Regions from separate parts of the Homo sapiens genome. Here regions 1 and 3 are each linked to region 2. Evidence: promoter capture Hi-C in 16 types of primary human blood cells and fetal thymus (Javierre and others, 2016). All regions are on one chromosome and are shown on one strand. Each heading gives the region's core, a stretch centred on a gene start or on the middle of the fragment in contact. The rest is flanking DNA. Distances are from core to core; before and after follow the strand shown. Region 1 overlaps RBM26 (RNA binding motif protein 26). Region 2 holds the start of FBXL3 (F-box and leucine rich repeat protein 3). Region 3 overlaps RBM26 (RNA binding motif protein 26).

The links. Contacts are between HindIII fragments. The CHiCAGO score rates a contact against its expected background, and 5 or more counts as called.
Region 1: a fragment that was not itself captured here is called in contact with the fragment with the promoter of FBXL3 in region 2 in 2 of 17 cell types (total B cells and monocytes); the score reaches 8.0 in total B cells.
Region 3: a contact is called between a fragment that was not itself captured here and the fragment with the promoter of FBXL3 in region 2, in 1 of 17 cell types (total B cells). The highest score is 14.4, in total B cells.

What each region holds. Positions count from the first base shown.
Region 1 is chr13:79,358,941-79,363,031 of GRCh38, forward strand. It overlaps RBM26 (RNA binding motif protein 26), which reads right to left. Exons shown (of 22, transcript NM_001366735.2): 10 at 635-746. Among named protein-coding and RNA genes, the nearest start is that of RBM26, 45 kb to the right of the region's middle. The HindIII fragment of the contact is 4,955 bases long and covers 1-4,091 here.
Region 2 is chr13:77,025,706-77,029,627 of GRCh38, forward strand. FBXL3 (F-box and leucine rich repeat protein 3) reads right to left here and starts at 1,454. Exons shown (of 5, transcript NM_012158.4): 1 at 1,122-1,454. RefSeq lists silencers at 995-1,054, 1,075-1,354, 1,525-1,574. The HindIII fragment of the contact is 14,791 bases long and covers 1,421-3,922 here.
Region 3 is chr13:79,330,887-79,334,757 of GRCh38, forward strand. It overlaps RBM26 (RNA binding motif protein 26), which reads right to left. Exons shown (of 22, transcript NM_001366735.2): 20 at 3,458-3,544. Among named protein-coding and RNA genes, the nearest start is that of RBM26, 73 kb to the right of the region's middle. RefSeq lists enhancers at 1-285, 286-786. The HindIII fragment of the contact is 630 bases long and covers 1,573-2,202 here.

The DNA of each region.
Region 1 (4,091 bases), core at 649-3,148, 2.3 Mb after region 2:
AAACTGTGGCCTAGAGAGGTTACTCTGCATTAAATCACAGAATTAATCACAAACAACTAGAAACTATCCATTATTAAGTAGATGTTAAAGCTCTAAAAGTGATCCTAGTCTCTCTTCACAGATTTATTTATAAATGAATCACCTCACACATATCTTAACATTCTGATTCCTTACCCCTTTATCTGAAGCTCTTTCTTGACCATTCAATGCCTAGACAGCCTCTCCAACCCCCACAAAAGCCCTTTCTAGCTCCTACCTAGCAGGAACTGCCTACATATGAAAGTCTCTTGACAGGTCTGATCTATACCTCCTTCCTCTAATGATGAGAGGCTCATGACTATCCTGTATATAGCTAGTATTCAACAGGTCTAAGTTAAAGAGTGGGTTTTTTGGAGGAGGGTAAATGATAAGAGGAAAAAATTATGCCCTGAACTACCACACCATTTCTGTAAGAAAATGCTTTTCTAACATCAGACAACTAACTTGCCAATTTTTAGAAAACTCACACTTGGGGATTGCTTACAGAACAGAGTAACATTTTTGGAAGAAACCAAACCATATTGTCATAATAATACAGAAATGATCCTGAAAATCAATGCACAATTATACTCCTCAATTTTCCTGGCCACCTTACTTATCAAACCAAGTCTTCTTTGTAGGAACTCCAGGCTCTCCAGAACCAATGGTTCTTTTCCTTGATTCTGAGTCCACTACTATCCTCATACTGCTTTTATTGGGAGGCTTTTCTGTTTTAAAACAAAAGAAAATGAAAAAAATAAGCATAGGTTAATATTTTCTATTTATCATAGATACCTTCCTCATACAGGAAAATTTCTGGCTTTTGTCTAAATATATATATATATATATAATTTTTTTTTTAGAAGAAATAGAAATAAATGTATAGTAGCTCCCCCTTATCCAGTTTCATTTTTACGATTTCAGTTATCTCTAGTCAACCACAGTCCAAAATTATGGAAAACTACAGAAATAGTAAACAATTCCTAAGTTTTAAACTGCCTGCAGTTCTGAGTAGTGTGATAAAATCTCACACCATCCTGCTCCAACACTTGATCTCATCATGTAGGCATTTTATCATCCCCTATCATCCCAAGAAGGGTAAATACAAAAAGATATTTGACAGAGAAAGACAGGGACCATTCACATAACTTTTATTATAGTATATTGTTATAATTATTTCATTTTATTATTAGACATTGTTGTTTAGCTCTTACTGTGTCTAATTTATAAGTGAAACTTTATCACAGGTGTGACTGTATAGGAAAAAGCATAGTATATGTAGGGTTTGGTACTCTGTGGTTTTACACACGAGGAGTCTTGGAACATATCACCCACAGACAAAGGGGAATTACTGTACATTCAAATACAGTAATCTAAGGGTTTTTTCAAACTTATTTCAACATATTCATTTCACAATTAACTATGAAAAAGAATCAATTCTCACATGCCAAATTAAAATGTGATTCTGTAGGTCACTTCTTTGTAGATAAAACCCAAGTCATTGTTCCCATCTACCATCACCCTCACCACAAATATATATATATATATCAATGCACAAATGAGAAAATAATCACTTTGAGGCTTTAAGTTCATAGTTTTGAAATCAAATGCACAATCTAAAAGATTCAAAACTTTACACTAATCCAATAATCTTTGAGAAGTGAAAGGTTAGAGTTATGATTGAAGTGAGCTGCTTTTAAATATGGAATAGACTCATAAAATATGAATGTAATGAAAGCATACTTGCTTTAAAAAAGGAAAAGATTCAAGTCTAAAATACAGTGTAAAAGAGCTGTAAAAGTCTGTTACTTTCAACATTTTATATTTACTTACATGGCATGTAATGAGCATAGTACATTTAACCTGTTATTCCCAAATGACTCCAAAGTTTAAAACATGCAAACCTTAATCCACATAGAAAAATGTAACTTAAAAACTCCTTTTTTATAGATGGCAAAATTGATTTGTCTAAAATCCTATTTTTACATATTTCTAAACACCTAACTAACCAAAAGAACTGAAGATCTGTTTCAGCACAATATCTCTCATGGCCACAGCTATGGTCTCCTGCAGGAGGAGAGCATATACTCAATTCTAAATTTTCAACTTCTTTGTTCTCTCTGGAAATCCTACAGGTATCTCAAAACTCACTATGCAGAACGTTCAAATTATTTTCATATTAAGTCTATCTTTTATTTTTCTTAAACATTTCTATTAATGAAACTACCATTTTCCCAATCATCCCAGTCAAGTCATATTTGATATATGACTACCCACATATGCCATACATACAGAGACTCAAATCAACGCTCTAGACTCCTGCTGCTTTCCTCCATTTTCAACCTTTCCCAGGACACTGATACCTCCCATCAACATTCAAACATTACAGCTCTAATTACTCCATTTTAAAAAAAAGAAACTCTCGTAAAACCAGTTTTCCCTTTAGCAACAACATCTCTCTCCATACTCCCACAGCCCTTTCCTAATCAATGTCCACACTTACTAACTTTGCTTCCTTAACACCCACTCACTAATCCTCTGAAAACTGGCAGTTGCTCCCATTACTTCACTTTACTTGCTCGTGCTAAAATCACTCATGTCCTCACCTGTTGCTTAAGCCTATGAATACATCCCAGTCCTCTTACTGGACCTCTCAGGAGAATTTGCGGCTGTTGATCATCTTCTTTTCCATCTTAGGTATTATATTCCCTGGGTTTTTAGGAATCCCCACTCCTTGCTTTTGTCTGCAGCTTTTGGGCTTCATTTCTAAGTTTTCTATAAAGTTCTCCTTTCTCTGTCCATTTACTTTGATGCTGACATTTGTCAAGTAGTTATACTTGGGTTTTCTCATCTCACTTTACATAGCCTTCCTAAAATAACTTTCTTATCTACTGCCATGGCTTCATTCATCTTTTTCAGTGATTCTCAGTGGGGATGGGGAGAGGAAGATTTTAGAAACGCACGAGAAAGGTTTTTAAAATTATGTTAAGTCAGACCTACAGATTTTGGTATGGCTCCTTCTATCTCCCTTTACCTCCCACTGGTACTAATGGGACAGAAGAAAAGATTAAGGACCAAAGTTCTACATATGCATGATTCCAAAATCTGTATATTCTAGTCAACTGTCTCTCATGGGCCTCAGACTTCCATATCCTATTTCCCACTGGACATTTCTACTCAAATGCCCCAGGGGGACAAGAAGTTAAACACTTTCAAAACTAAATTTATCTTTCTGTCAAAGCTGTCCTTCTCAATGAATGATATTATCATCTGCCCAATTATCCAGGGCAGGAAACGGGTGTCTAATTTCATCCACTTATTACCCCTATTCTAAGCCTCCAAATTAAATAAGTTACAAGTTTTGTCAATTCTTTCCACTAAACTTATTTTTTTCATTTCTATTATTACCCTAGCCCAGCTACTATCACCTCTATTCTAAAATTCTGTAAATGCTTTTAATTAGCCTCTTACCTCCCTCTACATTACTTACTTCTTCTCTTACAGTCACAAAATTCCTTCAGTTTCTCAAAAGTATCACAGGGTACATAGGCTGTATCTATTCTCTTCCTCTGTCTAACTCTGACTTATCCTACATCTCTAGGAAACATCCTGTATCTAGCACGTGCGATGTTTCTCTGTCCAGTGGTACCTTCCAAGGACCGGTTCTGCAAAAGGATTTTTGGTCTTATTCCTGTCTCCCAAGTCTGGTTCACCAGCCCTTTTGGAGAATCTGTGACCTATCCAACATCTTTTGTTTTTTACTTTAATATGTTCCGTACCTGAAGGTTCACTAAGAGAGGGAATAATGTGTTTTGCCTCCAGTAATTGAAATGGGTTTGCTCCATCTCATCTGTATTCTCTAATTCGGAATCCCTTTCATTGATATATATTTAAAAGAAGGGTATTAAAAACACAGAAGCAAGTTCCTCTTGGTATATACTCAGCAAATGATCTAATATTAAATAGTTTTATGTAATGTATTTTTCCCCAATAATCATTTTAATGAATTGTTTTTCTGCCTAAAATTGTCAGCACTGGTTTTGTTGACTAGAAATGGAAAACTACTTAACCCT
Region 2 (3,922 bases), core at 204-2,703:
AAAAAAACTTTGAAAGAAGCAACTTCATTAGGTGAAGACCGGAAGTGAACAGCTAGCCGTGTGCATCGTTGTATTAGGCACTTTTACACTGGGCATGCAATAATTTTAAATGCTCATTTGTAGTTAACTCTAAAAAGCCTATTTTGGCATCACAGTTCCTTTCTGTTCTGCTTTTACTAATATCAAACTAATATGCATTCTTTGGCTGAACTACAAGAATAAAACACTATAAAGAGGTTAACTCACAACTAAATGCTTAGAGAGCGCACAGTGGCGAAAATCTGTCTACAGGTCATATAGATAGATAGATAACTGATAGTTGATGGTATTTTTATAAATATTTCAGAGATAACAGAAACTAAGTTACTTTTTTTTCAAGTTAGAAAAGGAGGATTCTAATTAAAAAATCTGGGTCACTCAACTGGATATCATTAGCAACGACAAAATAAAAATGATCTCTCTCACCTCTCAGCTTGGAGATACAGACCATTTACTGGGCTGCTTCCTGACCCCTGTCTGCAACCCCACCTAAAGGACTGCCCACGCCAAAGGCAGACGCGAATCCGCTCAACACAAGTTGACCAAGTTTTTCGCCTGGCTAAGCGGCAGGGGCGTCCCCTCCTCCCTGCGCCACCTCCCCACCGACTGGCTTCCCCTGACATTTCTCATGCGCCCCACCCTGGGCAGTTTGCTTTGACATTTCAGTGCCTCATTGCTCAAGCTACCAGCACGGGCGTAGCCGACGCCGGGAGAGCCCACAGAGTGCGAGCTCCATGGTGCCTGTCACCAGCCCCCGCCAAGGGTCATAAAGCCTGGCAGGAGCCGCGGCGAACCCGGGAGCGGCGGCGTCGCGGGCAGGCTGCAGGCGGCCGCCGCACACGCACCACGCCTTGTTGACATGTTTGGAAGCAGGCACGGCGGGGAAACGCCCCCAAGCAAGCTCCAAGGTCTGGGTGCCGCGCCCCGCGCCCCGCCCGGCACTCCTGAGGAGCGGCCCGCGCGCGCCCCGGCCCCCGCGCCCCCCCCCACCCCACCCCACCCCGGCCCGCCCACAGACGGTCCGCGGTCCCTCCCCGGCTCCGCCGTCGCAGCGGGGCTCGGCCCTGCCCCTCCGCCGTTACCTGCTGCCGGGGGCGGCTTCCCCCACACACCACCCCGTGCTCCGGGGACGGCGGCGGCTGCAGGTCCCGCGGCTCTCACATGAGGCGCCCCTGGCCCCCCGCTTCGCGCTCCCGCAGCCGCGGCCCCCCGCGCTCCGCCCGCATCCGAGGCGCTGGTCCCGCGGAGGGCGCCAACGCGGCTCCACCTTTGCGGCTCTGGCTGCCCAGAAAGAAGCTTTCCTTCTCAGTCCCGCGCTGTCTGTGTTCAGGGATCCCCGGCGCCGCGAGAGACTACCTCAGCGAGCGGCTGCCACCGCGTAAGCTTCCTGCACCTGGGCCACAAACAGCGAGTCTAAAATGGCGCCCAGGGCTCGCGGCCGCGCGCTTCCCTGGCGCGTCCCCGCCCAAGGGGGCGGGAAGGGGGCGGGGGGGGGGCGGAGCCCGGCGGGAGTAGGGCCGCGCCCAAGCGGGAGCGCGCGCTGCGGCCGCCCCAGTCTCCTTGCTGTGGGACGAGCCTCTGCCTTCCTGCCAGAGATGTGACTCCCGCTTGAAGGGGATTTTTTTTGTTGTTTTGAGATGGAATGTGGGAGGGCTGAAGCTAGCTATATGTGGAAGAGACTATCTGTGGCTGAAACTGGAAGGTTTAGGGAGGTGGAGCAGAAAAAAGAAAGGAAGGAGTCTCGCCGGAGCCTGCTGGGGACCGCGGCCCGCGGGTGGCCGCCCCGGATGCCTGAAACCGAGGAGTTAAATACAGTCTCCGAAGACCCGCGCATCGATGTGCATAAGTGGTGCTTAAAAGATGCCAAGGAAATGTACCAGAATAGTGAGAGTATTAACGCTGGGATTGCACATGGTTTTTGTTTTTCAAATATTTGTATTTCCCAATATTTCTAAAGTGGCTTTTATCATTAGAGTTATTACATTTTAAAAACGACATTTGCTTTATGAAATAGAGTCCTGAAATTTGTAAATAGCTTTTGAAACGCAATGGGGAAAGTAAAGGATTACAAAGCTGCTGAAAAGAAAACCTCTGGTGAATCCTTTTGTAAATCAAGGCATCTTTGTAACTGCTACCTAGTTGACTTGTTTTAAAGTTTGGATTTTTTGATACTGCGTTTTCTTACAGTTAGAAACATTCTTAGGTGCAATATCATTAAGTTGAATCATGCGCCATTCCTCTCTACACCTCCAAAAAAAAAGAGAGAAAGTAGTTTTCCATTCAAAGATGTCTTAGAACACTCAGACCCATGTATAAGACACTGAAAAGCAGTGGTGCCCAGGGAGCTCTCCGTTCTTCCCGTTTTCTCAAGAAATTGAGCTAGGAAGCCATGTATAAAGTTACGTCGAAGTTCAGTGTGAGGCCAGGAGTGGTACAGGCTTATGTCTGTAATCCCAACATTTTGGGAAGCCAAGGCAGAAGGGTTGCTTGTGGTCAAGAATTGGAGACCAGCCTGCGCAATATGTCCAGACTCTTGTCTCTACAAAAAAATAGAAGAGTAATAATTTTAAAAAATCAGACGAGCTTGGTGTAATCCCGGCTACTACTCAGGAGGCTGAATCGAGAGGATGGCTGGAGCCCAGGAGTAGGAGGTTACAGTGACCTATGATGTCACCACTGCACTTCAGTCTGGGTGAGAGAGTGAGACTGTTTCTATAATAAAATGAATTCAATGTGGGGAAATGCCAGTGTTGTTTGTTCGGTGTTTTTTAAGGGCCTGTCAGCTGTCAGATCACTGAATCAAACTGTACAAAGCCTCTAGTAGCATAAGAGTGTGGATTTGCCTGAGCTGCAACATTTGTTTAGGTCCCTCAGTGACTGGATGATGAGGAACAATAGGAAGTTCTAAGAAGGACAATGATAATTATTAAGGAAAAACAAATAAGTCAAATACAGGCCCATTTATTTAAAGTTGGGTGAACAGTATAAATGATCAGCAAAATACATTAAACCAATTCAGTAAACATGATGAGCATAGGTTGCATTACGTTAATATTGTATCACATTACGGTTATATCACATTCCAATCATAGTTCTTTTTTTTCTTTTTTCGCCATTATGATCTATTCTCCTCCTAAACAAGACAAGGACCTTGGCACACTTGACCTATTGAATACCCCTTTTCTTCCCTGTTATTGGCAAATATTTTATTTCACCTCATTTTTTTTGAAAAAAAACGTTTATTTTTTAATCAGTCAGTACTTATTTACATTTATCAATTGTATCATCAAGATCAGTGGCATGGTAGGTGGGAGAAAGGATGAGTGTGGAGCACATTGATCCAACTGGGAAAAATAATTTATTACTGACCCTGTTTGGAATTGCCAATGCATGTGGTAATAAAAAGCAGATGAACAATTAGTCTCTTTATTATTGTTTTAAATTATCCACAGACAATGTACCCCCTCCACCACGTAGAATGGTGTAGACTATTCCCACACCACCCCAGCCTTGGTACACCAATGATCAGGATAGATTAGATTATGTTGCAGTAGTTCCTTAAATACCATCTTGTAATTCCTCGTTTTTGATGACCTTTACAGTTTTTAGGAGTACTGCTTTAGTATTTTTGTAGAACGTCCCTCAATTGGGGTTTGTCTTAGGTTTTTTTCTTATAATTACATGGGGACTATGGATGTTTTAGAAGGAAAACTACAGAGGTATAAAGTACCATTCTCATCACATCATATCAAGGGTACATCTATTAATACGACTTATCCTTGTTGATGTCAACATTAATCAGAGGTTGAGATCAAGTTATTCTACTTAAAGTTACCCTTTTCCCTCTCTTTTTGTACTGGAAGAAAGTCACTATGTGCAGCCA
Region 3 (3,871 bases), core at 638-3,137, 2.3 Mb after region 2:
CACATAGCAGCACTTAATAACTATTAAGTATCAGTAAAAACACACACACATACACACACACACTCTGCTATGCACATAATTTGACTTCTTTTGGTTGAATCCATTTAGTAAAACATGATTCTCTTTCCCCCTATTTTTTGCTAAGATAGGGTCTGGCTCTGTCGCCCAGGCTGAAGCACAGTGGCATGATCTCAGCTCGCTGCAACCTCTGCCTCCTGGGCTCAGGTGATCCTCCCACCTTAGCCTCGCAAACAGCTGGGACTGCAGGTGCACGCCACCACACCTGGCTGATTTTTTGGTAGAGATGGGGTTTCTCCATGTTGCCCAGGCTGGTCTCGAACTCCTGGACTCAAGAGATCCACCCCACTTGGCCTCCCAAAGTGGTGGGATTACAGGTGTGAGCCACTGCGCCTGGCCCCTCTTTCCTTTTGATATAAAAAATTGTACCTCGCAGCCAGGCACAGTGGCTCATGCCTGTAACCCCAGCACTTTGGGATGCTGAGGCAGGTGGATCACGAGGTCAGGAGATCGAGACCATCCTGGCTAACATGGTGAAACCCTGTCTCTACTAAAAATACAAAAAAAAAAAAAAAAAAAATTAACTGGGCGTGGTGGCAGGCACCTCTAGTCCCAGCTACTCGGGAGGCTGAGGCAGGAGAATGGCATGAAGCCAAGAGAGGCGGAGCTTGCAGTGAGCTGAGATCACACCACTGCACTCCAGCCTGGGCAACACAGCGAGACTCCGCCTCAAAAAAAAAAAAAAATTGTACCTCTGTGAGTTTGGGACTATAGGTTTCATTTTTGTTCTGATTCTTCTAAAACAGCAACTTAATTATTCCTATTCTGAACAGGATCTTGGGCTCCTACAAAGGTACAGTAACAATTCAGTGCAGAAAAGATAATATTCAAATCAGTCATGGAAGAGACGACTGCTTTACTCTTGTCTGAGTACTTATCCAACTTTAGTACTTTGGCATGGTGATAGACAAAAAAATAGAAAATAAGGTAATAGGAACCATCTTCTAGGTAACAAGGCAGAGTCAAACCATAAACCATCTTAACCTAAAGCTAACAGTGTTCTGCTTATACTGATGGTCTTTAAAATGCTTCAATATTTTTCCTGAGGAAAACTTCTCACTTTTCAGTTATATCTGAATGTCTCAATTACCTTATTTATTCTTGTACTTTCATCTTGAAATACTATGCATCTATTGATTATAGAAAATAAATTCATTCAGTCATCTAGGATAATGGTCCAGAAAACAAGAACAATGTAATGTTTGACAGTAAACATTGGCAAGGGCTGACAGTTTTTTCTTGGGAAGGCCTATCCTTTACTGCGAGTTCATGTTCTCCTACATTTTCAGTGTTAAAATTTCCTTTATTTTATATAACAATGGTGATAGAACATGACAATCTTTTTGTATTTTTAAAGTATTCTTCCCTGGCAAAATAAAAAGTTGATACCTCTATGACAAACACACAAATTTTTAAATTCCTAAACTTTACTGTTCCCTGAAATCCAAAAGTTTGAAGACCACTGCTCTATATGTATCCTGCTTGTATAAGATAAGCTTCAACTTAATTTTCTATTCTTTTCAACATTACAAAATTTTAAGAAACTTTCTGGCTTAAGGATATGCTTATGCTTTAACAACTTTTGTAACTAAAAATCTAAACATTTATCATAGCAGTGGTCATTACTCTTTTTAGTCTATTAAGTAAATCCAACTAAAGCTATTTCCTCTAAATAGGTAATTCTCATTAGACCTAACTTGGCCTTAGTTATTCTGTCACTTATTCAACCTTCATGTAATTCAGTGCTAAAGTCTTCCTTATACATTAATCCCTGGTATTTTTTATTGTTATTAATTTTGAAAAATACATTGTATACACGCCTAAGGTACAAAAAGCAAGACCCAAGAAAGAAGGTACGTGTCAAAAGTCTTTCCGCGAGCAAAATTTCCAAAAATTATTTAAGAAGAGGTTTTAATTTTTTCTCAGCCATATAAGCAAGCAAGGGAAGTAGTACATATTTAAAGTTCTTAATAAATCCACAAATTTGGCAATATCTGAACCATTTGTACAGTAACAACTATCATTATTTTATAATACCACTATTCCCTAGAAAATACATAAAACATAAAACTACCTATCTAGCAAGAGACTAAAAATTATCAACTGAAGCCACCACTGAAAGGAAGCTTACTCTAAACTTGCACTTAACAATACCCTGGAGAGAACATTTAATCAAAGATCTACCTTTTTCAATATAACATACACACATACAAGCTTATGAGTTTTAAAATCTCATCAATTTTAAATTACTTTTTACTTTCACAAAAGAACATTAAAGAAATGATTATTCAAAGCTAGCTTTAAAAAGAGAACACCCTAAGATCAGGAATTCCTATTTTATAAAATAATATACTACCCCCTACCTCTACCCCCAAAACTAGATTTTTTCAAGGCTCCAGTTGAATGACTTATCAGACCCATAGTCTTATGGTTACAATGCCCCAAGGGCAACTTCTACCAGGTAAGCAATGTACCACTGTGCTGGCAGAGAACATTCACTACAAAGAGGATAAATAAATGTAGAGGTTTTTTCAAAACTTATTTAAGTTGAAATCAACTTAAAACTTCTGAAAAGCATCTCACTCTTTCATTGCTTTCATTTGGAAAACTATTTCATCCCTGGAACAATGGCAAGGACAAAACAGTGACACTGTCTTCTCTACAATTCCTGAAGAAAGAACACACAGGGCAAAAAAGGCTCCTATGAATCCCCTACACCTCACTCCCATTTTCCTTTTTTTTTAATCTTTGAAACCCAAATGAAAGACAAGGTTGCAGATATTCCGGTCAGTCCTTGGAAAGACAATTCAAGATTGATAGTTTAAGGTAACTTTACTAAGAGTACCCTCAAAGTTAGAGGTATAGACCATGTCTTAGGCAAAAAGTCATAGAAGTCTAGTTGGGGCTATGCTGAACTAGGGACACTTCTTTTAGAGTTCAACCTGATGAGACCAGGAAGCAGTAGATGAGGAATGGCTAAGATGGGCAGACATTAGAACTGCTTGTACCTTATCCCTCACCACTCATTCTGCCAAAGCAGATCCTGTTTTGGGTCAGCTGAAAAAAAAGAATAATGGGTAGTGGAGTGGCCCTATCTACTATGAAAAAGAAAGAAAGGAGAATCCCTGGTATCTCACGACAGCACAATTTGACATTCCACTTGGTGACTAAATATGTATTTTAATTGTATTATGTTACACACAGAATTGCTTATAACTGCATTAGGACATTCTTTGAGGGCATGAATTCCACTTCAGGTGTTCTACCTATTGTCAAAGCATATTATTTAGTAAGTTAAAAAATTCATTTATATTAAAACTTAAAAGTAATACTTATAAATCATTTAAATCTGAATTGATAAATTATTTTTAAAACTTACTGCTTCAGCTTCTGCTCTTGTCTTGAATGTAATTACTGCATGAAGTGAGGAATCATCAATCTGACAATCTTCAATTTCACCATATTGCTTTAAATTAAAAAAAAAGTATTTCCTCCAAATAAATATTTTGAAATATCCAAAAATCCTAATGGTATTAAAAAACATTAAAATACTAATAAATATAACCCAGAATACATAACAATTCATAATGGTTAACAGAAAAGTATGGTGAGTAATTTATTTTAGTACTTGATAAGATAAAAGGTGGTCCTGTCTTCCAATCTTACATACAATTCACACTTCCCAGAATTAGTAAAACTTATACTCAATTGAACTATGCTTTAAATGAAGGAAATAATGGTCAAAGCCTGAGCGTTCTTGCTAACTAACTTTCCTCTTATACTCACTAAACCA